Regions from separate parts of the Homo sapiens genome. Here regions 1, 2, 3, 4, 5 and 6 are each linked to region 7. The links are contacts of gene promoters, found by promoter capture Hi-C in blood cells and fetal thymus (Javierre and others, 2016). All regions are on one chromosome and are shown on one strand. Each heading gives the region's core, a stretch centred on a gene start or on the middle of the fragment in contact. The rest is flanking DNA. Distances are from core to core; before and after follow the strand shown.

What was found. The method cuts DNA at HindIII sites, captures the fragments that hold promoters and counts their contacts. A CHiCAGO score of 5 or more calls a contact.
Region 1: a fragment that was not itself captured here is called in contact with the fragment with the promoter of HEATR6 in region 7 in 2 of 17 cell types (activated CD4 T cells and megakaryocytes); the score reaches 5.1 in activated CD4 T cells.
Region 2: a contact is called between a fragment that was not itself captured here and the fragment with the promoter of HEATR6 in region 7, in 3 of 17 cell types (naive CD8 T cells, naive CD4 T cells and M0 macrophages). The highest score is 6.2, in naive CD8 T cells.
Region 3: a contact is called between a fragment that was not itself captured here and the fragment with the promoter of HEATR6 in region 7, in 5 of 17 cell types (M0 macrophages, total B cells, neutrophils and 2 more). The highest score is 6.6, in M0 macrophages.
Region 4: a fragment that was not itself captured here is called in contact with the fragment with the promoter of HEATR6 in region 7 in 2 of 17 cell types (M0 macrophages and M1 macrophages); the score reaches 6.3 in M0 macrophages.
Region 5: a contact is called between a fragment that was not itself captured here and the fragment with the promoter of HEATR6 in region 7, in 1 of 17 cell types (activated CD4 T cells). The highest score is 5.0, in activated CD4 T cells.
Region 6: a contact is called between the fragment with the promoter of APPBP2 here and the fragment with the promoter of HEATR6 in region 7, in 2 of 17 cell types (naive CD8 T cells and neutrophils). The highest score is 5.5, in naive CD8 T cells.

Annotation. Positions count from the first base shown.
Region 1 is chr17:59,710,609-59,713,814 of GRCh38, forward strand. All of the region lies in intron 1 of VMP1 (vacuole membrane protein 1), which reads left to right. Among named protein-coding and RNA genes, the nearest start is that of VMP1, 4.6 kb to the left of the region's middle. The HindIII fragment of the contact is 1,418 bases long and covers 1,035-2,452 here.
Region 2 is chr17:60,462,846-60,466,138 of GRCh38, forward strand. It overlaps APPBP2 (amyloid beta precursor protein binding protein 2), which reads right to left. Exons shown (of 13, transcript NM_006380.5): 6 at 1,176-1,265. Among named protein-coding and RNA genes, the nearest start is that of CHCT1, 42 kb to the left of the region's middle. The HindIII fragment of the contact is 1,418 bases long and covers 1,182-2,599 here.
Region 3 is chr17:60,430,887-60,434,000 of GRCh38, forward strand. It overlaps CHCT1 (CHD1 helical C-terminal domain containing 1), which reads left to right. Exons shown (of 6, transcript NM_181707.3): 6 at 295-540. The coding sequence ends at 380. It also overlaps the pseudogene RPL12P38. Among named protein-coding and RNA genes, the nearest start is that of CHCT1, 10 kb to the left of the region's middle. The HindIII fragment of the contact is 7,385 bases long and covers 1-3,114 here.
Region 4 is chr17:59,666,174-59,669,391 of GRCh38, forward strand. It overlaps CLTC (clathrin heavy chain), which reads left to right. Exons shown (of 32, transcript NM_004859.4): 11 at 1-67; 12 at 307-471; 13 at 624-804; 14 at 2,604-2,767. Among named protein-coding and RNA genes, the nearest start is that of PTRH2, 40 kb to the right of the region's middle. The HindIII fragment of the contact is 4,362 bases long and covers 1-3,218 here.
Region 5 is chr17:59,620,003-59,623,423 of GRCh38, forward strand. It overlaps CLTC (clathrin heavy chain), which reads left to right. Exons shown (of 32, transcript NM_004859.4): 1 at 1-171. The coding sequence starts at 130. Among named protein-coding and RNA genes, the nearest start is that of CLTC, 1.8 kb to the left of the region's middle. The HindIII fragment of the contact is 1,938 bases long and covers 323-2,260 here.
Region 6 is chr17:60,524,757-60,528,112 of GRCh38, forward strand. It overlaps APPBP2 (amyloid beta precursor protein binding protein 2), which reads right to left and starts at 1,486. Exons shown (of 13, transcript NM_006380.5): 1 at 1,038-1,486. The coding sequence starts at 1,175. RefSeq lists enhancers at 397-1,105, 826-1,095 and a silencer at 1,176-1,315. The HindIII fragment of the contact is 8,801 bases long and covers 849-3,356 here.
Region 7 is chr17:60,077,092-60,080,419 of GRCh38, forward strand. It overlaps HEATR6 (HEAT repeat containing 6), which reads right to left and starts at 1,830. Exons shown (of 20, transcript NM_022070.5): 1 at 1,605-1,830. The coding sequence starts at 1,823. HEATR6-DT (HEATR6 divergent transcript) reads left to right here and starts at 2,218. Exons shown (of 2, transcript NR_135648.1): 1 at 2,218-2,381. RefSeq lists a silencer at 1,487-1,616. The HindIII fragment of the contact is 13,067 bases long and covers 1-3,328 here.

The sequences.
Region 1 (3,206 bases), core at 494-2,993, 370 kb before region 7:
CTAGATTTGAAGTGTAATAGATTAAGGAAAGAAAATCAGTTATATTCTTCAGAATAGTTTGTCTGAGTTCATGCTTCATGACTGTCATGTGTTGAGTTATCTTTCTGGCAAGTGGAAATGACGGAGGAGCCTTAACACGTGTCTACTGTGAATGTTGTTGCTAAAGAGTAGGAGAGAACTGGCCAGGCGCCGTGGCTCACGCCTGTAATCCCAGCACTTTGGGAGGCCGAGGCGGGAAGATCACCTGAGATCAGGAGTTTGAGACTAGCCTGTCTAACATGGTGAAACCCGGTGTCTACAAAAAATACAAAAAAATTAGCTGGGTGTGGTGGCAGACGCCTGTAATCCCAGCTACTCAGGAGGCTGAGGCATGAGAATCGTTTGAACCCGGGAGGCGGAGGTTGCAGTGAGCCGAGATCGCGCCACTGCACTCCAGCCTGGACAACAGAGCGAGACTCCATCTCAAAAAAAAAAGAGAAGAAAATAAAAGAAAAGCAGTAGGAGAGAACTGTATTATTTGCTCTTACAAAAAAAAAAACCTCCCCAAGCTGTTTGTAATTTTAATATTTTGTTATGTTAATTATCTATTATATATAGAGCCATTTCTCTAGTTATTTTATTCTGGGTAAATAGCCATTGTAGAAGAGTTAATTCTTTGCATTGTTGGGTACTCTTTTTTTTTGGTTCCATTGATTTAACAAACTTTTTAGTCTCTTTAGTCTTTCTCGGAGATGATAGTTCTAGGTGCTACTGTCATTCCTGTTTTTGCCCAAGTGCCCTTGCTGTGTCTCCCATTTTGGTGTGGAAATGAACTCTAGATTAGAGAATCCTAATAAACAGGACAAATTGAAGTGATAACTTTGTCGTGGTTTTGTAAATTGTTACTCTGCTTTCACAAAGCCTTGCAAATATTTTGAGGAATAGTAAATTGCTAAGAGCATATTGCCTCAAGAAATTCCTTATTTTATATGGGAAAGCAGCTTTGGATGGAGTTTGCTGAACTGAAGTTAGGTATTATGTAGGCCCTTATATAAAGCTTATTTTAAAATATGCTCCTTGATTTGCAGCATCAAGGAAATTTGAACAGGAGATAATTTTCTGTGTCAGATAAAAGGTGATACTTAAAGTTTAAGGCATATTTAAATTAAGCAAGGGCAATCTATTGAGTAATTATATCACAGCTAATATACCTATAATTGCTCAAGAGTTTGTTTGTATTCTTGAACTACTTAATCTTTTCAGTAGTTCATGGGAGTATTTTCTCTTGTCCTTGAGTTTTTTAATGATAACTTTGTTCTTTATAGATTACCTGGAAGGACTAGGCAGGTAGTGTTAAAAGCCAGGGCTATAAAGCTAGACTGCTTTTTTTCAAATTCTAGCTCTATTACTATGCAACTCTTGGATTAGTTACTTTTTACTTCTTGCTATCTCAGTTTCCTCCTGGACAATGAAGTCAATACCCTTCTTGTTAGGATTGAATGAATAGGTTTAAATAAAGCATTTAGAACAGTGTCTGTAGCATATAGTTAACCATGATTGTGATCATTATCATCATGTGGCCCCCTAAGCTATTGCCAAGAACTCTTTCCCAGCCCTCTTTTAAAAGCATAGCTTTATGTTGCTGCTTACTTAATTATTGTTTGCTCATTATTAATGAAGTTCCAGTAAATAAATATCTGAGTATACACTTCACTTTGTCTATATTTTACAACATATGTGAGATTCTTAACCAAATGAGGCATTCTTTTGGGCCATTCTGTTAACTTTTTGGTATTAACAGACTACATTATCTGTGTAAGCCATAACACAGAATTTGGCAATTGAAACTTTTGATGTTTCATGATGTCTTTTAGCACTTTCTTGGAATGGAAAGATCATTTTCCAGTGACATCTATTGCCTTATCTGTTCATTATCCAGTCAGTGAACAAACATTTTGTGTCCCAGGCCTTACACCAGGTTCTGGGGAAAACAATGGGAAATAAGAATTGTTAGGAAGGCAGCACATGAGGGTCTAAGAGAGAGTTAACAATGTGGATATATGCTTATTTGAGGCTGGAGCATAATAGACTTGGAATACATTGACATGAGATGATATAGGAAATATATACAGGATCCAGGTCATGCAGAATTTTGCAGGCCAAGGGAATGAGTTTGAATTTGATTTTGAGTGCAGTAGGAAATCATTCTACAATTTTAAGTAGAGGAGTAATAGGATTTATAAGAAGTTCATTGTTGTTCATGTGTGAAGGATGAATTGAAGCGGGCAAGAACAGAAATGGAGAGAGAAGTTGAGAGTCCACTGCATAGTCCAAGAAGAAGATGAAGATGGTCTGGACTAGAAGGGTAGCAAAGAAGATGGACAGTTGTGTGTGGATACCAAATATATTTGGTATAGGACTTGGTCCTGGGTTAGATGAGTGGTAAGAAAAAGGGAAGTGTCAGGGATGACTAAGCTTCTGGATTTAGTGACTGGGTGGGTGGTTGTGCCAGGTACTGGGAGAAGGGAGGTTTGGAGAAGACCAGGTTTGTTTGTTACAAGAAGGTGGGTAGGTGTAGGGAGAAAAGGACATGTTAATTTTGAGACACTTAAAGAATCATCTATGGACACAGGAGGGGGGACATCACACACCGGGGCCTGTTGTGGGTTGGGGGAAGGAGGGAGGGATAGCATTAGGAGATATACCTAATGTAAATGACGAGTTAATAGGTGCAGCACACCAACATGGCACATGTATACATATGTAACAAACCTGCACATTGTGCACATGTACCCTAGAACTTAAAGTATAATAATAATAATAATAATAAATCATCCAAGTCACGCACTTACATATATAAATCTAGAGGTCAAAACCAGAAATACAAATACGGGATAGTATTTTCAACCATGGACCAGATGAGTCACCTGGGGAGATAGGGAGAGGAGAGGGCCAAGGGCAGGTAAAAGAAAGATCTGGGCTGGATGCAGTGGCTCACTCCTGTAATCCCAGAACTTTGGGAGGCTGAGGTGGGTGGATCGCTTGAGTCCAGGAGTTCGAGACCAGCCTGGACAACATGGCAAAACCCCATCTCTCTTTTTTTTTTTTTTTTTTTGTTAAAAAAAAGAGAGACTTTTTTTTTTAACAAAACGGAGACTAAGAAGGTATCTTAGGGCTGGGCACAATGGTTCACACCTGTAATCCCAACACTGAGAGGCCAAGGTGCG
Region 2 (3,293 bases), core at 641-3,140, 390 kb after region 7:
AGGCTGAGGCAGGAGAATGATGTGAACCCTGGGGGGCGGAGCCTGCAGTGACCCGAGATCGCGCCACTGCACTCCAGCCTGGGCGACAGCAAGACTCCATCTCAAAAAAAAAAAAAAAGAAAAAAAAACCCAGAAATATAAATCTTGCATAAATATTATGTTGTCTTTATATTAATATTCAATTATTTCAATTAATTAAAAACGTAAGAATATCCCTGTTCTAGCTCTGATAACTTAAATATTTATGCTGTTTACTTACTCTAAAATGACTGATTTAATAAATTTCAGAGAAATATTAGACTCTCTCAGATCTATAATTTTGGAATCTATTTTCTAGTTGAATTTCCATAAGTAAAATCAACCAAAATGAAATATTCAAATCTGAGAAACTTCAGGGTAGAAGAGTGTATCTGAAAAGTACATTAATGCTTTAAGTCCTCACTGCACCAAAGGAGTAGTTTTAAAATACTACTAAATGTCCTCAAAGAGTTAACGCAGGCCAACCGTGGTGGACCTGTAATCCTAGAACTTTTGGAGGCTTGCCTAGAACTTTTGGAGGCTCAGGTGGGAGGATCGCTTGAGTCCAGGTGTTTGAGACCGGCCAGGGCAACATAGTGAGACCCTGTCTCTATTTAAAATAAAATAAAAATGTAAAAGATTTAATGCATTTATTTACAGAATAAGAAAACACTAGAGAAAAATCAAGTAAGGACTGCCTAGCAGGTCAAGTATAGCAAGCTGCCTTGCTGTGAGACTGCAATACTATGACAAAGAGATTTAACACCAGGCTATCTTTAGCAGAAAAGTGACCAAAGTTCACAGGATTTTGGCATAAGGAATTCTGGTTGCTATAAATATTTAAGAAAAACAAAAACAAACTCAAGCCAGAATAGCACCCAAATACTACTTTGAGCTGTACTTTAGTGCACTGAAACAATGATCAAAATGAATTATTTCACTGGTTTTCTTGGTAAAGAAAAATTGGCTAAAAATCTATGTGTGATATAGTTTTAGTTAGAAACCAGATTTCTAAAAATGAGCACAGAAACTTATAAAACAGACCTATGCCTACGGAGTGTACAAATAACTAAAATGTTAAATAACAGGTTAATTAAAACAAACTTAAAGCCTGATAAATCCTATAATTCATTTAATAATTTTAACATTATATTTACCTTAGAAGCTTGTCTTAAGACATCCACCACAACTTTCACTGGTAAGCCTGCTGTAATTTCTTTCATTGCCTCGATGCACCATTTGTATGCCTAAAAAAATTATTTATAGAAGAGACAGAACTGTGGTTAAATCAAGTTGACAATATTTAACAAGATGACTGCAAAATTTTTCTACAAGCACTTAAATAAGAACACACACAAAATATTTACAGTTAGAATTTTCTGAGGCTAAACTTTCTTCAAAGTATAAATCTGTTATATTATTTTTACTCTTAATATCTATAGCTTATCTGAATCAGACGTTGTGGATACATGACATATCTTCTGGAAATCAGAGGTATGTTCTCTCTTGCCCAGAAGCCTTTGCACATACTGTTCCCTCTGCCTTAAAATACATTCCCCCTTCCTCCAACCCCTTAAACTCATCTGTCTTGTGGGGTTTCCTGTGTTTTCCTATACATTCCATCCTCCTATTGTAACATTTGTTATTTTATGTCTGAATTGTCTGTTTAGTTGAGTGTTTACTTTGTCCCAGCTACTGTCCAAAGTATTTTATGTGCATTAACACATTTACCTGACAAAACAGCCCTATAAGATACGTACTATTAGGGGAAACAGGTGTAGAGAGGTTAAGTGGCAGGTAATGTGCTAGTATCTAGGTATGAAGTGGGAAACAAAACCAAAAATGTCCTTCCTCTCCTGGTGCTTAGTGGAAGAAATAAAAAAGGCAAAATAAATTGTCTTAGGCTGGGTGTAGTGGTGCATACCTGTAATCCCAGCACTTTGGGAGGCTGAGATGGGAGGATCGCCAAGCTCAGAAGTTTGAAACCAGCCTGGGTTATAACATAGTGAGACTTTGTCTCTATCAAAAATCAAAAAAATTAGCTGGGCGTGGTGATGTGCACCTGTAGTTCCAGCTACTTGGTAGAGCTGAGGTGGAGGCTGCAGTGAGCCGTGATCATGCCACTGCACTCCAGACCTTGGTGATGGAGTGAGACGCTGTCTCAAACAAACAGACAAACAAACAAACAAAGACAAGTGTGGCCATGTGATTTCTTTCCACAATTAAAATATGAGAAGTGAAATGTGCCACTTCTGGAAGAAAAGTCCAAGAGCCGGCAGTACTTCTCCATGAAGTTTCTGCCCCTGTGCCCAGGCTGGTAATGTTCTAGATAGATACGTTCCAGATAGACCCAAAACCACGCTGTGTCTTGATCAAAGCGTAGGTATAATGTTAAGAACAGCCATAGCCATCTGAAGACAGGGATATATTATGAGCCAGAAAGAAACTTTTATTGTTCCAAGCTATTCTGGGGTTGATATTACCTCTGCATAACCTAGCCTATCCTAACACAAAAACATGATGCTAATTCATCAAACCATGTCTGTAAGATTTGTGTACTTTTCTGTAGATATCAGTGAAAAGCTTATTTATCACTAGAAGATTGAACTGTCAAAATTATCCAAGACTTCAACATTCCTCACGAATGTGCTGAGAGCTGCAAAGACATGAATAAGGCACAGTATAAACCCCTAAATCCAAATGTAGAAGGAAAATAACTGTCAGGCTGGGCATGGTGGCTCATGCCTGTAATCCCAGCACTTCAGGAGGCCAAGGTAGAGGATCACCTGAGCCCAGGAGTTTGAGTCCAGCGTGGGTGACAAAGCAAGATCCTGTCTCAAAAACTACAACACGAGGCCCAACCAAACAATTTAGGCAAATATTTGGTTAAATTAAAAGAAAAACAACAAAAGAAAGGGCTCTAAATTACACATGTATATATTTCAAATTCACCTCACAAACACTCCTTTTGCCTGATTTTTTATTTTTTTGAGACAGGGTCTCACTCTGTCACTCAGGCTGGAGTACAGTGGTATAAATATGGCTCACTACACCCTCAACTTACTGGGCTCAAGGGATCCTCCTGCCTCAGCCTCCCATGTAGTTGTGACCACCACAGGCGTGTGCTACACATGCGGCTAATTTTCTATAGAGGCAGGGTCTCTCTCACTTTGTTGCCCATGCTGGCCCCAAACTCCTGGGCTCAAGTGATCCTCTACCTTGGCCTCCTAAAGTTCTGGGATTACAGGCATGAGCCACAGTGCTCGGCTTGTCTG
Region 3 (3,114 bases), core at 444-2,943, 350 kb after region 7:
CAGAGGTCGAGGAAACTCGGGTCTTGCCCTGACTCTTCCCCTAACTTGCTGTAAGACTTTGGGCAGGTCATTGCTTTACCCTGGACCTGGGTGACAGTCCTCATCTGTAAATTGGGGACAATGCCATCTCTCTACTGGGTTTCTGTGAGAAAAAACTAAGTGATATAGGTGGGAAGTAAGATAGGATTTTGCTATTCTTCCTCTCTGCCCCTACAACACCCCCCATGTATTACAGACTGAGATTCTTACTATTTGTGATGTCATTGGGACTGTCTCTGACCTTCTCTTTTTCAGATTCTTTAAGGGAGCTTTCTCAAAAACCAAAACTCAAGAGGAAGAGGATAAAGGAAGCCCCAGAAACTCCAGAGACTGAACCGTAAGAAGACCAACTGGGACAAAGGGCCCGCTTGTCCTGGCTCTCAGAGCACGGGGAATGGAGACCAAAAAGGGAAAAGAATTGTCCTTATCAAAAAGATTCTCAGGTCTTAATTAGGAATAAATGAGGTGGGAAATAAACATTCTTATGACAGTTCTACCTTACTTGACCAACAGTCATCATTCGTACATTTTAAATTTGTTTAAAAGATATTTGCCAGCCACCTTCTAAGTGGCAGGTGCCCCACATATGCACAGATGAATAAGATGTGGTCACTTTGTCAAGGACCATCACAGTCTAGTGGAGCAGACAGACATAGAAAAGACACGACAGCAGGGTAAATACAGGTGACTGGGGCAGGCCTCCGGGGAGTTAACAAAGGAGCTGGGTGTTTGCCAGTGGAGCACACAGGTGGGGAGGGAGGGAGCCTGGGGTCAGAGAATGGCAAGCCTGGCAGCCCGCCTGCATTGTCTGGACTTCATTTTGTGGGTAGCTTGGGATGGGCAGTGGTAAGGGAAGTGTCAAGTAGTGGAATGAATGGGTGTCACTACGGTATTGGGGAGATGCTCTGGTGACTGTGAGCAAAGTGCATGGAAGTGAGCGAGGCTAGAGGCAGGAGACCAAAGAGGAAACAACACCGATGGTCTTAGCTAACATGGTGGCTCGAGCCATCAGTCACAAATCCACAGCCTGCACACTAAAGTAAGGCTACTGATGTGTTTTGTTTGTCCTGGGTCATGTTCTACTTGTTGTTTAAAACACTTTAAGTCCGGGCATGGTGCCTCATGCCTGTAATCCCAGCACTCTGGGAGGCTGAGGTGGAGGTTTGTTTGAGCTCAGGAGTTCCAGACTAGCCAGGGCGATATGGGAAAACCCCATCTCTACAAAAAAATTAGCTGTTCATAGTGACGCACACCTGTAGTCCCAGCTATTTGGGAGGCTAAGGTGGGAGAATCGCTTGAGCCCATGTGTCAGTCTTTTCTCGCACTGCTAATAAAGACATACCTGAGACTGGGTAATTTATAAAGGAAAGAGGTTTAATTGACTCAGTTCCACGTGGCTGGGGAGGCCTCACAGTCATGGCAGAAGGCAAATGAGGAGCAAAGTCACATCTTACATGGCAGCAGGCAAGAGAGTGTGTACAGGAGAACTCCCCTTTATAAAACCATGAGATCTCATGAGACTTATGAGAACAGCATGGAAAAAAACCCACCCTCATGATTCAGTTACCTCCCACTTGGTCCCTCCCACAACATGTGGGTATTATTACAATTAGAGGTGAGATTTGGGTGGGGACACAGAGCCAAACCATACCATACCGCCCCGGCCCTTCCCAAATCTCATATCCTCACATTTTAAAACCAATCATGCGTTCACAACAGTTCCCCAAAGTTTTAATTCATTTCAGCATTAACCCAAAAGTTCAAGTCCAACATCTCATCTGAGACAAGGCAAGTCCCTTCCGCCTATGAACCTGTAAAATCAAAAGCCAAGTTAGTAACTTCCTAGACACAATGGGGTTGCAGGCATTGGGTAAATACACCCATTCCAAACGGGAGAAATTGGGCAAAATGAAGAGACTACAGGTCCCATACAAGTCCAAAATCCAACAGGGCAGTCAAATATTAAAGTTCCAAAATGATCTCTTTTGACTCCATGTCTCACACTGAGGTCATGCTGATGCAACAGATAGGTTCCCATGGTCTTGGGCAGCTCCAGCCCTGTGGCTTTGCAGGATACAGCCCCACTCCTGGCTGCTTTCACAGGCATTGAGTGTCTGCAGCTTTTCCAGGCACATGGTGAGCTGTTGGTGGATCTACCATTCTGGGGTCTGGAGGGCAGTGGGCCTCATCTGACAGCTCCACCAGGCAGTGCCCCAGTGGGAACTCTGTGTGGAGTCTCCTACCTTACATTTTCCTTCCATACTGCCCTAGGAAAGGTTCTCCATGAGGGCTCCACCCCTACAGCATACCTCTGCCTGGACATTCAAGCATTTCCATTCATCCTCTGAAATCTAAGTGGAGGTTCCCAAACCTCAATTCTTGACTTCTGTGCATCCACAGGCTCAACACCATGTGGAAGCTGCCAAAGTTTGTGGCTTGCACCTTCTGAATCTATGGCCCAAGCTGTACCCTTCTAGCCATGCTGGAGCAGCTGGGATGCAGGGCACCAAATCCTGAGCCTGCACACAGCAGGTGAGCCCTGGACCTGGCCCAGGAAAACATTTTTTCCCTTCTAGACCTCTGGGCCTGTGATGGGAGGGGCTTCCAAGAAGGTCTCTGACATGCCCTGGAGACATTTTCCCCATTGTCTTGGGGATTAGCATTTGGCTCCTCCTTACTTATGCCAATTTCTGCTGCCAGCTTGAATTTCTCCCCAGAAAATGAGTTTTTCTTTTTCTTTTTCTTTTTTTTTCACTAGTTGTCAAATGATCCTTTATTGAAATATTTTCCTTTGTGCTTAACTAGCTGGGCATTCCACAGCACCACTGTTGATGTCATCTATGATGTCATGAGGGTGGCGGCCATCAACATTACAACCCACAGAGACTGGGCAGTCCCCAGGATCTCTTTAATGGTTCCAGAGAGTTCTCTGGCTAAGGATCGGTGCTCCATCTGTCGAGCAAGGTTGACGATCTCATCAAAAGTGATATTCCCACTGTGTTTAATGTTTTTCTGTTTCTTTCTGTCTCTGGTGGTTCCTTGAGGGCTTTGATGATCAGGGCAGAGGCAGAAGGC
Region 4 (3,218 bases), core at 24-2,523, 410 kb before region 7:
TAATCGCCCATCTGAAGGTCCTTTACAGACGCGGTTACTTGAGATGAACCTTATGCATGCGCCTCAAGTATGTGTTTTAATGCTTTTTAGGCATGTTTCCAACATTGTTTTAGTAATTGTGCAGCGCCTCTCAGATTGTTATGCAAAGCTACTGAGGGGCCTACTCCTTATTAAAGAAAATGTAGCTATTATAATATTCTTTTGTACTTTAACAGTTCACTATTAAACCTTAATCTGTAATACGGATATTGAATTACTCATGTAAGTGGAGTGGACAATAAACTTGCCTTGTTTGTGGTTTTACAGGTTGCAGATGCTATTCTAGGCAATCAGATGTTCACACATTATGACCGGGCTCATATTGCTCAACTGTGTGAAAAGGCTGGCCTACTGCAGCGTGCATTAGAACATTTCACTGATTTATATGATATAAAACGTGCAGTGGTTCACACCCATCTTCTTAACCCTGAGGTATTTCAGTTTCTTACCTAATAGATGGTGTTAGTTGTGATTAATAGGTACACTGAAAATGTGTTTGTGGTACTAAATATTAATAATTTCATACCACCATGAGGTTCAACATTATTTCATTTATTCATTCATTCATTTATTTTGTCTTGTAGTGGTTAGTCAACTACTTTGGTTCCTTATCAGTAGAAGACTCCCTAGAATGTCTCAGAGCCATGCTGTCTGCCAACATCCGTCAGAATCTGCAGATTTGTGTTCAGGTGGCTTCTAAATATCATGAACAACTGTCAACTCAGTCTCTGATTGAACTTTTTGAATCTTTCAAGAGTTTTGAAGGTAATTAGGAGTTTTTGAGTTTTTAAAAAAAGTACTTAAGGTAGCCAAGAAGAGGTATGCTTATGATCAGGCTGTTGGAAATTTTGTTTTTCTAAAAATTTGGTTCTATGGGACATTTTAATTTTTTAAGTTTTATTCAATATATGTCAAGGCCCTTTTATGTTGGATTCTAAGGATATGCAGTGAACCAGACCATCTGTTTGGATATTTTATAGATGAATTAAAGGTAGAATTTTAAGAGAAAAATATGTAGTGGTGTTGAAATTGTATAAAATGAAAATACAGGTTGAGTGTCCCTAATCTGAAAATCCAAAATGCACCAAAGTCCAAAACTTCTTGAGCACCAACATAACGCTCAAAGGAAATGCTTGTTGGAGCATTTCAGAAATCGGATTTTCAGATTAGGGATGCTGATCAGGTAATTATAATGCGAATATTCCAAAGTTCAAAATCTGAAACACGTCTGGTCTCAAGTATTTTGGATAAGGGATACTCAGTCTGTACTAATGATCAGGTATAATAAAATTTTATGCTTATATGTCTGACTCTTATAATAGCAGGTGATTCTCACTAAGGGCATTTTGTGATTTGTTGCTATTTAGCAGGATTTCTTAACCTTAGTACTATAGACATTTAGGGCTGGATAATCATTGTAGAGGGGTGTTCCTGTACATGTAGAATATTTAGTAGAATATTCAGCAGCATTCCTGGTTTCTACCCACTAGATTCCAGTAGCGTCAGCTCCACCAGTTGTGACAACCAAAAATGTCTTCAGACATTGCCAGTGTCACCTGTGAGGAAAATCACCTCAGTTGAGAACCACTGCTATACAGGGTACTAACGTAATCACTGTTGGGTGTCTAACTTCTGGTCCCCAACTGCCTTTCTCTCCTCTCTGTACTAGTAGTACTCTATTGAGAAGGGGTAAGAGAGTCTAGTAGTTTTCTTAATTTTTTCTTAATTTTCCCAGTTTCAAAATGTTAACTGTGCACTAAATTTACACTGTTTAGTACAGTCACTAGCCACATATAGTAGCTATTTACATTGAAAGTTATTAAAGTGAAATAAAATTTAATATTTAGTTATTCAGTCACTCTAGCCACATTTCAAGTGCTTAATAGCCACATGTGTTTAGTGGCTATTATATTGGAAGGCAAAGATAAGATTTTCATCATTGCAGAAAGTTCTTCTGGACAATACTGCACTAAATTCTTCCCAAATTATTTTGTATGTTTCCTATAAATTGCATATTGAAAAACACCAGGTATTGGGGTCTTCATTTAAAATTTCCCATATAGGGGCACAATGGTGTATGCCTTTAATAATCCCAGTGCTTTGGGAGGCCAAGTGCTTGGGGCCACAAATTCAAGACCAGCCTGGCTAGCATAGCAAGACACCATCTCTACAAAAATTTTCTTAAAAATTAGCCTGGCATGGTGGCATGCATCTGTAGTTCTAGCTACTTAGGAGGTTGAGGTGGGAGGATTGCTTGAGCCCAGGAGTTTGAGGCTGCAGTGAGCTATGATCGTGCCACTGCACTCCAGCCTGGGTGACAGAGACCTGCCTCAATAAAAAAGAAAAAAAGGAAACATTGGGTTGAATTGTCTATTCTTCAGGATTAAAGTGCAATCCATTTTACTGATCTGATTAATGGAATAGTTAGTATTTTTATCGCGCTTTTTAAGCAACCAACTTATATTTGGGAGTATTCAATATAACAGTTTTTTAATTACATAAATGTTTTTCAGTCATTCTCAAAAGTGTGCCTATGCTTAATTGTAATTACTTGTTTCTTTAAGGTCTCTTTTATTTTCTGGGATCCATTGTTAACTTTAGCCAGGACCCAGATGTGCACTTTAAATATATTCAGGCAGCTTGCAAGACTGGGCAAATCAAAGAAGTAGAAAGAATCTGTAGAGAAAGCAACTGCTACGATCCTGAGCGAGTCAAGAATTTTCTTAAGGTAAGTGGTTTTGAGTAATGTGTTTTCTGGTTGGATTCCAGGTTAGCAGTTCTACAAGGGTTTGGTCATAGTTCAAAAATATTTTTTCCCTAAATGTGAAGTTGTTAGCATTCTTAAGTTGTGTGCTGGATTATTTCTTCCAAACATAATATTCTGTGGTTTCCTTTGAAATACGGAAGGAAATTGGTGAGTAAGAATGACCATCTGTTTAAAAGAAGAAAAAAAAAATAGCACTATTTCAAAGGAATTTCCTTTATTTTAATTTTGGATGGAAAAATTTAGAAAAGTGGTTGTATACTTTCAATGTCATTTTAGAATCATTTAGGCTTTTGAATATTAACATCAGCTTGCTCTTCATACCATTTTGAGGAGCCTCTATTGTAGGCAAAGGGATCTGTTGTCTAAGGAATGTATAGGTTTACCTCTTTCATCAAGTTTGCTCAACTCTAGA
Region 5 (3,421 bases), core at 42-2,541, 460 kb before region 7:
CGTCCCCGGAGAGGATCCTGCTGAGCCCAGCCTCCCCCCTCCCCTTCTCCTCCTCTCCCTTGGAGAGCCCGGGCAGCCACTGCCCCGCAGCCCCAGTGACAGGAGGAGACCATAACCCCCGACAGCGCCATGGCCCAGATTCTGCCAATTCGTTTTCAGGAGCATCTCCAGGTGCGGCCGGGCCCGGGCTGGTGAGGGCTGTGGAGAAGGTGGTAGGAAGGATGGAAGACGCTGGAGTCTGGGCCCGAGCAGTATCGGAGCTGGAGGGGCGGGGGGGTTGTCGGTGATTGGGGTAGGTGGAGGAGGGGGCACTATCTTGGAAAGCTTAAAATATTAAATGATGTGGGGCTTGGATGGAAAGGACAGGAGTTGGGGTGCAAAGAGCTGCAAGGACCAGGCCTGGATCCAAAGGCCTCTCGATCTTGCTTCCTGGATGGCCAGAACTGCGCGTACAAACTCTCTCCCCATTTTATTCATTTCATTCATTTGGGTAGGGGAGTGGGAGGGGGATTCTCCCTTGTTTCTACCAGAGCAAGGATTCTTATCCCCTGGGCCAGTGCGGGGCTGTCACCTTCCATTGCTCTCCTCTTTCCCTCATCGTGTCTGCACCCAGGAGTTGTGGGGCGGGTGGGTTGGGGAGGAGCAACCTTTTTTTTCCCTCCCTCTGCGGCTCTCAACTGAGAAAGGCACCTTCTCCGGTGGTGGGGGTTGGGGGTGGTGGTGAGGCGGTGGCTTTTCTCTTGCCTTCCCTGAGGCAGTAGGGACAGAAGGTCACTGAAAGAACGGAACGAGGGTAGAATGGGAGAACGCATTTCTTAGAGCTATGTCAATCTCAGAGTGTGTGCGGTCAAACTCCCTAAGGAAACTCGCCTCCCCTTCCCCCTTTTTTTATTTCTCTGGGGATGTTGTGGCTCTTAACCCCTCTTTGGTTCTGGAAGGTAGGAAAGAGTGATACAGAGGTTATCTTTTAGTCTTCTCGAGTAGTAGCAGGTAGTTTTGAATATCTTCTTCAGGATCGCATGGAATTGAACAGAGCCCTGGGGACAGCACAGCTGCTCTGAGACCTGCAGGGCTATTTGGTCTGTGACTGGCTTCCCTTTAGTAAGTTCTAGAGTTCTTCCCCATGGTTCCTTATCCTGGAGGCAACATATTGTTATCTGGCAACATGCCAGTGGCGGGCCTAGGCAGGTGACCATTGGAAGGCTTCACTGAATTAAACCTCTTCAGAGCTTTTGATTTTCCTGTGTCACCAATCCTGTTTTTTACTGTAGCTTAAATAATTTATTCCTATTAATTTGCTTTCTTCCCAAATATCCCCTTAAAGAAACCTGCCTCAGCTCAGTCGTCTGAAGGGCTAATTCCATAATGACAGGGAATGCAGTGGTTTGACATGACACTGATATCAGTGACCTATTAGACACTTTACCATTGAAGACCATTTTTATTTACATTTCCCCATTGGCATAGCATACATAAAGGATTCTTGTTAATAAAAGGTTTTAACATTCAGGCTATAAGTAACATAATTTCATATTTCTTTGCAAGTATTACCATGTTTGCACTAGCAAGGACTTATTTTCCTTTAAGGCTTGAAATGTAAAGAATAATAAATTTTTACCCATAAAATGAGTTAAATAATGCACTTTCCTCAGTCATCTATAATTTTCAAATAACTCATCTGAAGTAATGGAATATACCTTGGCAATAAAAACACTTTTACAGAGGGTTAAAAATGTTAAATAACAAAATGGACATTTTTTTTTGATCAATCCAAGTTTAGTTGCTGTGGTTGCTTTTGTTAAAGTGGGGTGGCAAATGAATGTGGAGAGTTGAGGGGTGCTGTTCTTAAGTGTGAGGGGAAAACGCGGGCTTATTTTCATATTAAACTGCATCTGAAATATCTTTCTGCAGACAAATGTTTATAAACCACACAGAGAATCAAGTACAGCTGCTCTTTATTTTCCACGGCAGATGTGTAGCTCACTACTAAATCTTGTGGTGGTTGGAGTAATAGCTTTTCATTTCTTTTAAAGAGGAGACAAGAATTGTTAAATGATCCCAAAGATTCGAACCCAACCTTGTCACTTATTAAAGACAAATTTAATACATGTCTGTTTTGTAACTGGATCAAAGTTTCTGCAGATGCTTGAATGAAGCCATTTTCTTCTCAAATAATTTGAAGATTTTGAATATAAAGCGATTTGCAAATTGAAAAATTCAGTCCTCTGTGTTTTGGATTGCTATGTCATGCCTAAACTTAAGCTTGCTTAGCTAATATGACTGTGCTCCAGTTGATTAATTGTGGAGCCCAAATAACTACAGCCTCTTTCATGATAATATATCTCCTAACTTCATATCATTATCTCCTCCCTTTTTAAAAATTAATAAGCATTTTGTTTTTTTGAGGAGACAGGGTTTTTGCTGGAGGTCAGTGGCACCATCACAGCTCACTGCAGCCTTGACCTACTGGGCTCAAGCCATCCTCCCACCTCAGCATCCTGAGTAGCTGGGACTACAGCCATGAGCCACCACACCTGGCTAATTTTTGTATTTTTTGTAGAGATGGAGTTTCATGTTGCCCAGGCTAGTCTCGAATGCCTGGGCTCAAGCAATCCTTTGCCTTGACCTCCCAAAGTGCTGGGATAATAGGTGTGAACCACCGAGCCCAACTAATAAGGATTATTTTAATTGGCATCTTTGGTCTTTGACCTCTGAGCTTCTACCAGTTTGCTAAGTAGCAGAAAACTTTCTGAAACACGTAGGATAAAAACTGGAAACAAGAAATGGGGAACTTAAGTGTGAGTGTAGAGTTACCTTGTGAAACTGTAAATGAACTTATTTTTATACCCTTTAACTACATTGTCCAACTGAAGGATCTCTTGTCATCAAAGCTTGGACCTACAGCAAATGAATGTGAATATATGAAGATTTCTCTTTTCCTAGACTGTTTAGACTGATAGCAGTTAATAAATGAGTGCCTATTTGAGCAAGATACTGTTGGAATTGAAGATTCTATAAAAATCCTAGGCTACATATATAAAATATTGCCTGTGATTCTTAATTTTTTGGTGATTTTCAATTTTCTGGCACATTAAGTATCTTTAGGCCACTTGACACATTCCATTGTATTCCTAGATTCTTTGGGTCTTCAATTAAAAATCTCCCTACCCTGTTCTTTCCCCTTTGATCCATAGATGCAGGCATGGAATGTGTTGTTGAGTCAAATGTTAGGGGTTCTTGCTATAGTTAGTTCGGATTGTGAATAGAAAGCAATGCTAAGTACTGGGATTTACTACATGCTTAGTTGTACTCTCTGGAAGAGGTAGACTTCCTGGAATTATGCGGCAGTCTCCTGGGAATAGCTTCTAAGTTTAAAATGTATCATATTCTTCAGAATTTTCTTGATGGTCAGTTTACCCAG
Region 6 (3,356 bases), core at 236-2,735, 450 kb after region 7:
AGATCAAGAGGAAGTATTTAAGGTCTAAAAAATAAATTACATTCTACTTTTAGTCACATTTTGCATGGGTGGCTACTGGACACTAGGAGTTATCGACGCGGATTCAAGACAAGGAAGACTGAATAATAAATCCAGTGTTCACATTCAAATGTGGGGGAGAGAAAAGGGCAGGCTCTGAGTCCATAAAGTTCTCCACACTCTGAAAACACTGCAAAAATAGTCCACATCTAAGGACACTTACCCTTGAAACTCCTTGGAGAGTGGCTTGGGAGACTTGCTGTTCAGATTTTTGAGGGGGAGTGATTTAAGAATGCTGCAAGATTGCAACTTTCAAACACAGGAACATAATCTAAAGTGTTTTTTTCTTTCAGTAAAGATCTCTCCCTGTCCTCTTCAAACAGTTGATCAGCACTCCCATTTTCACAAAATCCCTAATTCAAGTATAGAGCCCCTCCTCTCCCACAAAAAAATCAAAGCTTTAAAGAATATGCAAATAAAACACACAGATTATTTCCAATAATCCCTAACTCCTTCCCAATTGGGAAAAGAAAGGAGAAACGAAGGAACACGAAGCAAAAACACCAAAACACTCGGGGAAGGAAGGCGGCGAGATGAGAAAGTAGGAATGGGTGGGGGGAGGAGCACGGAAAAAAGTCCAGCTGATGCTGACACTTAATTGGAAGGAGAGGATGGAAAATATCCTGAAGATACGGGCTAGAAGGAAAGGACTAGGTGGGACAGGGGCGCGATAGAGTAAGTCCACGCAAAAGGCCTACCCAAGAGGGCCACTGTGTAGAAGGGAACACCAACAGGGAGCAAGACTCCCCAAGATTACTTCAAGGCCCCAAAGCTTAAGAGACAGGGCATAGGGAGATGGGGTGCTTCTCCACTGGCAATGCAGACACCGCACCAGACGTTTCGGGAGGCAAGTCTGCCGGAAGGGGTGAGGGGTTAACTGCGGGGGTTCGCAGACGTGGAAGGGGGTGCGGCCCCCGGGGTTGCTGGAGGAGAGCAGAGAGGAGGCCCACGGCGCATACCTTGTAGTAAACATCAAACTGGATGTTCTCGGGCAAGGAGCGGATGTCTCGGCGGGAGCGGATGTAGTTGTCCACGACAGCGGAGATGGCGGTGTTATAGAGAGTCTCTGGGATCCACTCTAGTTCCACGGCCGCCATCTTCCTTCCCTCCTCCTCCGCCTCCTCCGCCTCCTCCTCCCGAAGGCCCCCACCTCCCTCCGTAGCGAACCCCTCTGCGGCCCCGGAGGATTCGGAGGGGCGGTGGCAGCCACGCGGGCGCACGGCAGAAGGCACGGCCGCCCTGCCTCCTCCGGGGGCAAACTGAGGGACGGCGGCAGCGGACGCAGGCCCGAGTAAAAAGTGGGACAGAAAACAGCGGCCAGCCAGGCCAAAAGCGTCACAATCCCGGTTCGAGAGGAACCCGGGTTCCGTCCCAGCGCTGATCTCTGCAGGGGCGGGGCTGCGTGTGCGGCGTCATGACGTAAGCGCACGCCGGCGCGCCGGAGGGGAGGAATGCGGCAGGCGGAAAACTTAGGAAGAGCTGGATGCCTCCCACGGAGAGCGTCCCTTCCAAGCGGCCCCGGAGTGGAGTGGAGTGGAGTGGATAGGGGTAGACTTTTCACACGGGGACAAATTATTACAGGATATCTGCGCCCCCTGTTCCGAGTCACTCGGGGCCATCGGTTACTTCAGCAGGTTCTCTGCATCACGGACCCTTTTGAGGCTCAGGTAAAAGTTTGGATCCTCTCCCCACAAACGAGCAAAATTATCTGTACATTGAAAATTATGCATTGAGAAAATTCACATTACTCTAGAAACCCTTAGACTGCAGTTCCTAACCCAAGTTAAGAACCCGCGGTCCAGGAACTAGGGGTAACGATAGAAGAGAGACTTGTTTTTCTTTGTATAACCATTTGCACCGTTGTAACTTTTTGACCATGTTTCTTTATCCAAATGAAATTTCCGAAAAAAGAAAACTCCTGCCCCAGAACTTCGTAGGAAAACTAGCTTGATTATGGAATTACAAATAATAGTAAGAGAAAAAAGGCTAAGTGGTGGCCGTGATAGGACTTAATGGTATTTCAATTCCCAGAGTTACAGTGGCGGCTTCAAGGGATTGTTGAATAATTGGGAGTACTTGTTTCAGCTTCTTTCCTTCCTCAGCCTGAACATCTGCTGTTTATGTAACTTAATTTCCTAAGTCTGCGATTTCAAGAATTTGATGCAACATCTTTCTGTTCTAGGAATTTACCATGGAAATTATTGGCCATAATTGTTGGTGACACTATCAAACTCATAGTCACTCTATAACGATGTAAGTCCAGAAAACAGCCATAATAATAATGTCCTGATTGATATTTAGAGCTAAAAGAAGTGGAAAGAGTTATTTCAATTTACCCTTCACCTGGTACTTCAGTGTTAAGTGGTTAAATAATTCCACAAAAAATAAACACTCTTAATCTTCTTCAGTCTATATAAATTCTTACTCTATACTGTGAACCTAGGAAAGCTGTGGATGGCCTCAAGATCAGATTGCCAGTTTAGCAAGTAAAAAACTACAAGGCTGGGCGCGGTGGCTCACACCTGTAATCTCAGCACTTGGGAGGCCGAGGCGGGTGGATCACGAGGTCAGGAGATCGAGACCATCCTGGCTAACACGGTGAAACCCCGTCTTTACTAAAAATACAAAAAATTAGCCCGTGGTGGCGGGCGCCTGTAGTCCCAGCTACTCGGGAGGCTGAGGCAGGAGAATGGCGTGAACCCGGGAGGCGGAGCTTGCAGTGAGCCAGGATCGCGCCACTGCACTCCAGCCTGGGCAACAGAGCGAGACTCCGTCTCAAAAAAAAGAAAAAAAAAATTACAAGTGCCCAGTCACATCTTAATGTCAGATAAACAACAAATGGTTTTGAAATGTAAGTATGTTCTGTGCAATAGTTTTGCTCATGCCTTCGGAGCCACTCAAGTGTATCAGTTCATTCAGCAAATCCTTCATCACTTCTTAGACACTGGCGCTTTTGAAGATCAGGATCCCTGCCCCACATAAAAGAATAATTATTATCTCTGCAAATATTGCAGGGGACATATTTATACTAAAAACTTATTTGTGACCAGCCTGGGCAACATAGCAAGACCCCATCTCTACAAAAAAAAAATAGCCACATGTGGTGGTGTGCACCTGTAGTCCTAGCTACTCAGGAGGCTGAGGCAGGAGGATTACTTGAGCCCAGAATGTTGAGTGAGCCATGATCATGCCACTGCACTCCAGCCTGGGTGGCAGAATGAGACCCTGTCTCAGAAAACAACAACAACAAAAAACTTTGTTGTTCATCTGAAACTCAC
Region 7 (3,328 bases), core at 580-3,079:
AACCTCAAAGAGCTCACAAACTAGTGAGAGAGAAAGAAACACAACAAATAATTAAAATAAGGTGAATCAAGTGCTGAAAGAATAAAGTACAAACTCTGTCCAGAAACAGTAATTAGGGAGGCCTTGTGGAGGTGACTGTAAAGCAGAATCTGGAATGATTTGAAGGATGAGGAGAAATTTGCCAGATAGGGCATCAAAAAACACTGCAAGCAAAGTGGACAGAGTATGCAAAAACCTGGAGGTGTGAAACACTAGTAGGTGCCTGAAGAACAGCAAGTTTTAAATGGCTGCACACAGGAACAAAAGGGGGAGTAACAGGAGAGAATGGAAGTTTTGTTGCAAAAGTATCCAATTACACAAATACAGCAAAAGTCCCCGACTACTGCCTTAATCTCACTCTGCTTCCTAATGACATACACTATTATTCTGTAGTCAATTCTTTCAGACCTTTTACTTTGCATATATAAACACACATATTTTAAAATCCCTCCTCCAGCTTCATACTGATCTCATTCTGTATGAATTGTCCTGCAACTTGCTTCAACCATTTACCAATACGTATTGAAGACTTTTCCAAAGCAGATTTTAAAGTTTATGAACAATTTTTTTTCCTCCTAAAGAAAAGATCATTCTGGCATTGGAGGAATGACTGGCTTGGAGAGGAGCTAGACAGGAGGCAGGAGATCAGTCAGAGGGGATCAGCGAACAGTCCAGGCATAAGTCGCCTTGCCTGAGGTCTAAGGCACTCGCTATGGGAATAGACAGGAGGGGATGAACTGAGAAATATATATGAGACACATTCTGAAATACCTGAGTTGGTCAGGATCTGGGATGAAGGAGGGAAGAACCAGTGTTTGTGTCTGGTGTGACTTGGTGGATGATGCATGTGTGTTGGAAGGTGGGATGGACTGGGGACGGGAATGCGTGTTTGGAGCTAATGAATTTCATCTTTAGGAACTGTCTAGTTTGAGATGCCTGTGCAAGCAGGCAACTTGCACCACTTCCCTCTTTCCTACGTAGGGCCAGAAGGCCATGGTGTCAACAGTTCAGAGAATTCATTAATTTAAGGCCTGATGTGTGTAAGATTACTCAGAAAGACGGCAGAGGGGAGGAGCTAGTGTGTAGGAACAGAAAACATAGGGGCTTTGTGGCAGAGTTTTGTATACTGTATTTTTACGAGCTTCAGTATTTTCATTAGCAAACAAGCCCTAATACTACGCAAGTTCTAAGATTCCCACGTGGTCCGTGTACCATGTACGCAATAAACAGTAGTAATGCATTTTGTCAACCAAGTGTTCTGGGTGCACAGAGAGGGAGTGAAGGAGGGTGCGGGCGGATGGAAAGTTGGTATCAGAGAGGAAACCCGAGGCATTATCAGAGCAGGAGTCGTCAAGTTGGGTTTTGAATGACTCGAGCGTGCCAAGCACTGCAGGGTCTTCCAAATGGAGAACTAAGAATGTGCCAAGGTTGGAGGGGGCACGCCATCCTGAAACTAAATCATCAGGCGCGAGAGTGGGAAGATCAGGGAAAGGCAGGCAGAGGCCACCAGCTGGGTTCCCGGAGGGGTGGGGCCGGGGCCGGGGCCAGCAGGGCGCGCCGCCTACCTCCGGGGCCACGCCACTGCCCTCGCTGTAGTTCTCGGAGATGAGCTGATCGAAGAGCAGGTGGATCTCGGTGCGGGCGGAGCTGCTGTCATCCGGGCGCAGGGCGCAGAGCCTGGCAGACAAGAGGCGAAACCCATTGCCTCGCTCAGGGATTGCTTCCCGCGGTGCCTCCCGCGGCTGCACGGAAGGCCACGAACCGACAACTTGCACAGCAGCCATCTTTTCTACGGGCGGGGGGGGTGGGTGGGGTGATCCCAGGGAAATACTTCCGGGACATCCTCCCGTTCCGCGCGCTCTAGTTCCGAAAGTACCTTTTTTAGACCGGACTGGGGCTCAGAGGGGTTTCCATGACTACGGGACTCCTCCGACCGGTACCCTGCAGATGCTTGTCAGAAATTGGCTTGGAGGCCGGGCTCGGTGGCTGACGCCTGTAATCCCAGCACTTTGGGAGGCCGAGGCGGGCGGATCACGAGGTCAGAAGATCGAGACCATCCTAGCTAACACGGTGAAACCCCGTCTCTACTAAAAATACAAAAAAAAAAAAAAAAAAAAAATTAGCCGGGAGTGGTGGCGGGCGCCTGTTGTCCCAGCTACTCGGGAGGCTGAGGCAGGAGAATGGCGTGAACCCGGGAGGCAGGGCTTGCAATGAGCCAAGATCGCGCCACTGCACTCCAGCCTGGGCGACAGAGCGAGACTCCGTCTCAGAAAAAAAAAAAAAGAAAGAAATTGGCTTGGAGATTTTTCGCCGGCCACTCCTTCTTGAGCCCTGACTGAAAAGTGAGTTCTCAATTTGTGCTTCCAGAAAGTTTGTCCTCCCAGAGTTTGTTCCTGGACAGGGCTGAAGGTACTCTGTTCCGTACTAGAGTTTCAGATTCGGGCTGGAGTTGGAGAGGGTATGCTGTGGATGGCAGTAGCAGAAACCGCTAGTTCTAAGGCACCCTTCTACTCTTCTAAAATCTTTCCCCAGGCACAAAACCACCCGGAATAAAGGCTACGTTCCCTAGCATTCCTTGCAGTTGGCTGTGGCTCTGTGATTGCAATCTGGTCAGTGGAATATAAGGCAGCTTTCCCTACTTAAGTGACAGCTGGCTGTACTCTTGGTTCCTTTTTCTCCCTTTTTCCCAGTGTGAATCCTCTCATGGATCATGAGGCACCTCGCCCCACTAGAAGAGTAATTTTGGAGTTTAACTGAATCATGTAAAATATAATCTGCCTAAGAGTGACCGGGTTGAAATGAGACACCCCAAGATTTTCTGAAACCTTGAAGTCAAGAAGCTGGAGAATAAAATGGCCATTTAAAAATCTGTGATCACTTTTCAGTCATCCAGGAAGTGAAGGCTTGACTTTCACAGTTGGGCAGATTGGGAAAACCATCTCTAGGGCCTTTGAGTTATGCAAATATAAAGCAAATCCTCACCCTTGGCCCTTAGGGAAAACCTTGAAGTCACCTGAATGTATGTTTTATCCTGAGAACAAAACATTTCTGTTCAGCAGTGAAAATTGGGGGTATGCTTTAGCAGAGGTAGTTTTCTGAAGACTTTGGGCTTGGGGAGAAATGTTAATTTTTTTGTTTGGATTTAGATTCCGTTGTGCTGGTATATTATTTCTTATTCCTAGTCTGTGTACATATGTGCGTTATATATGTGCATGTGTGTGTGTGTATTCGTGTAAAGAAATGTATTCAAGCATTTGTTCAGAGAAGATCAGGAGCTGAAACCTAGTCG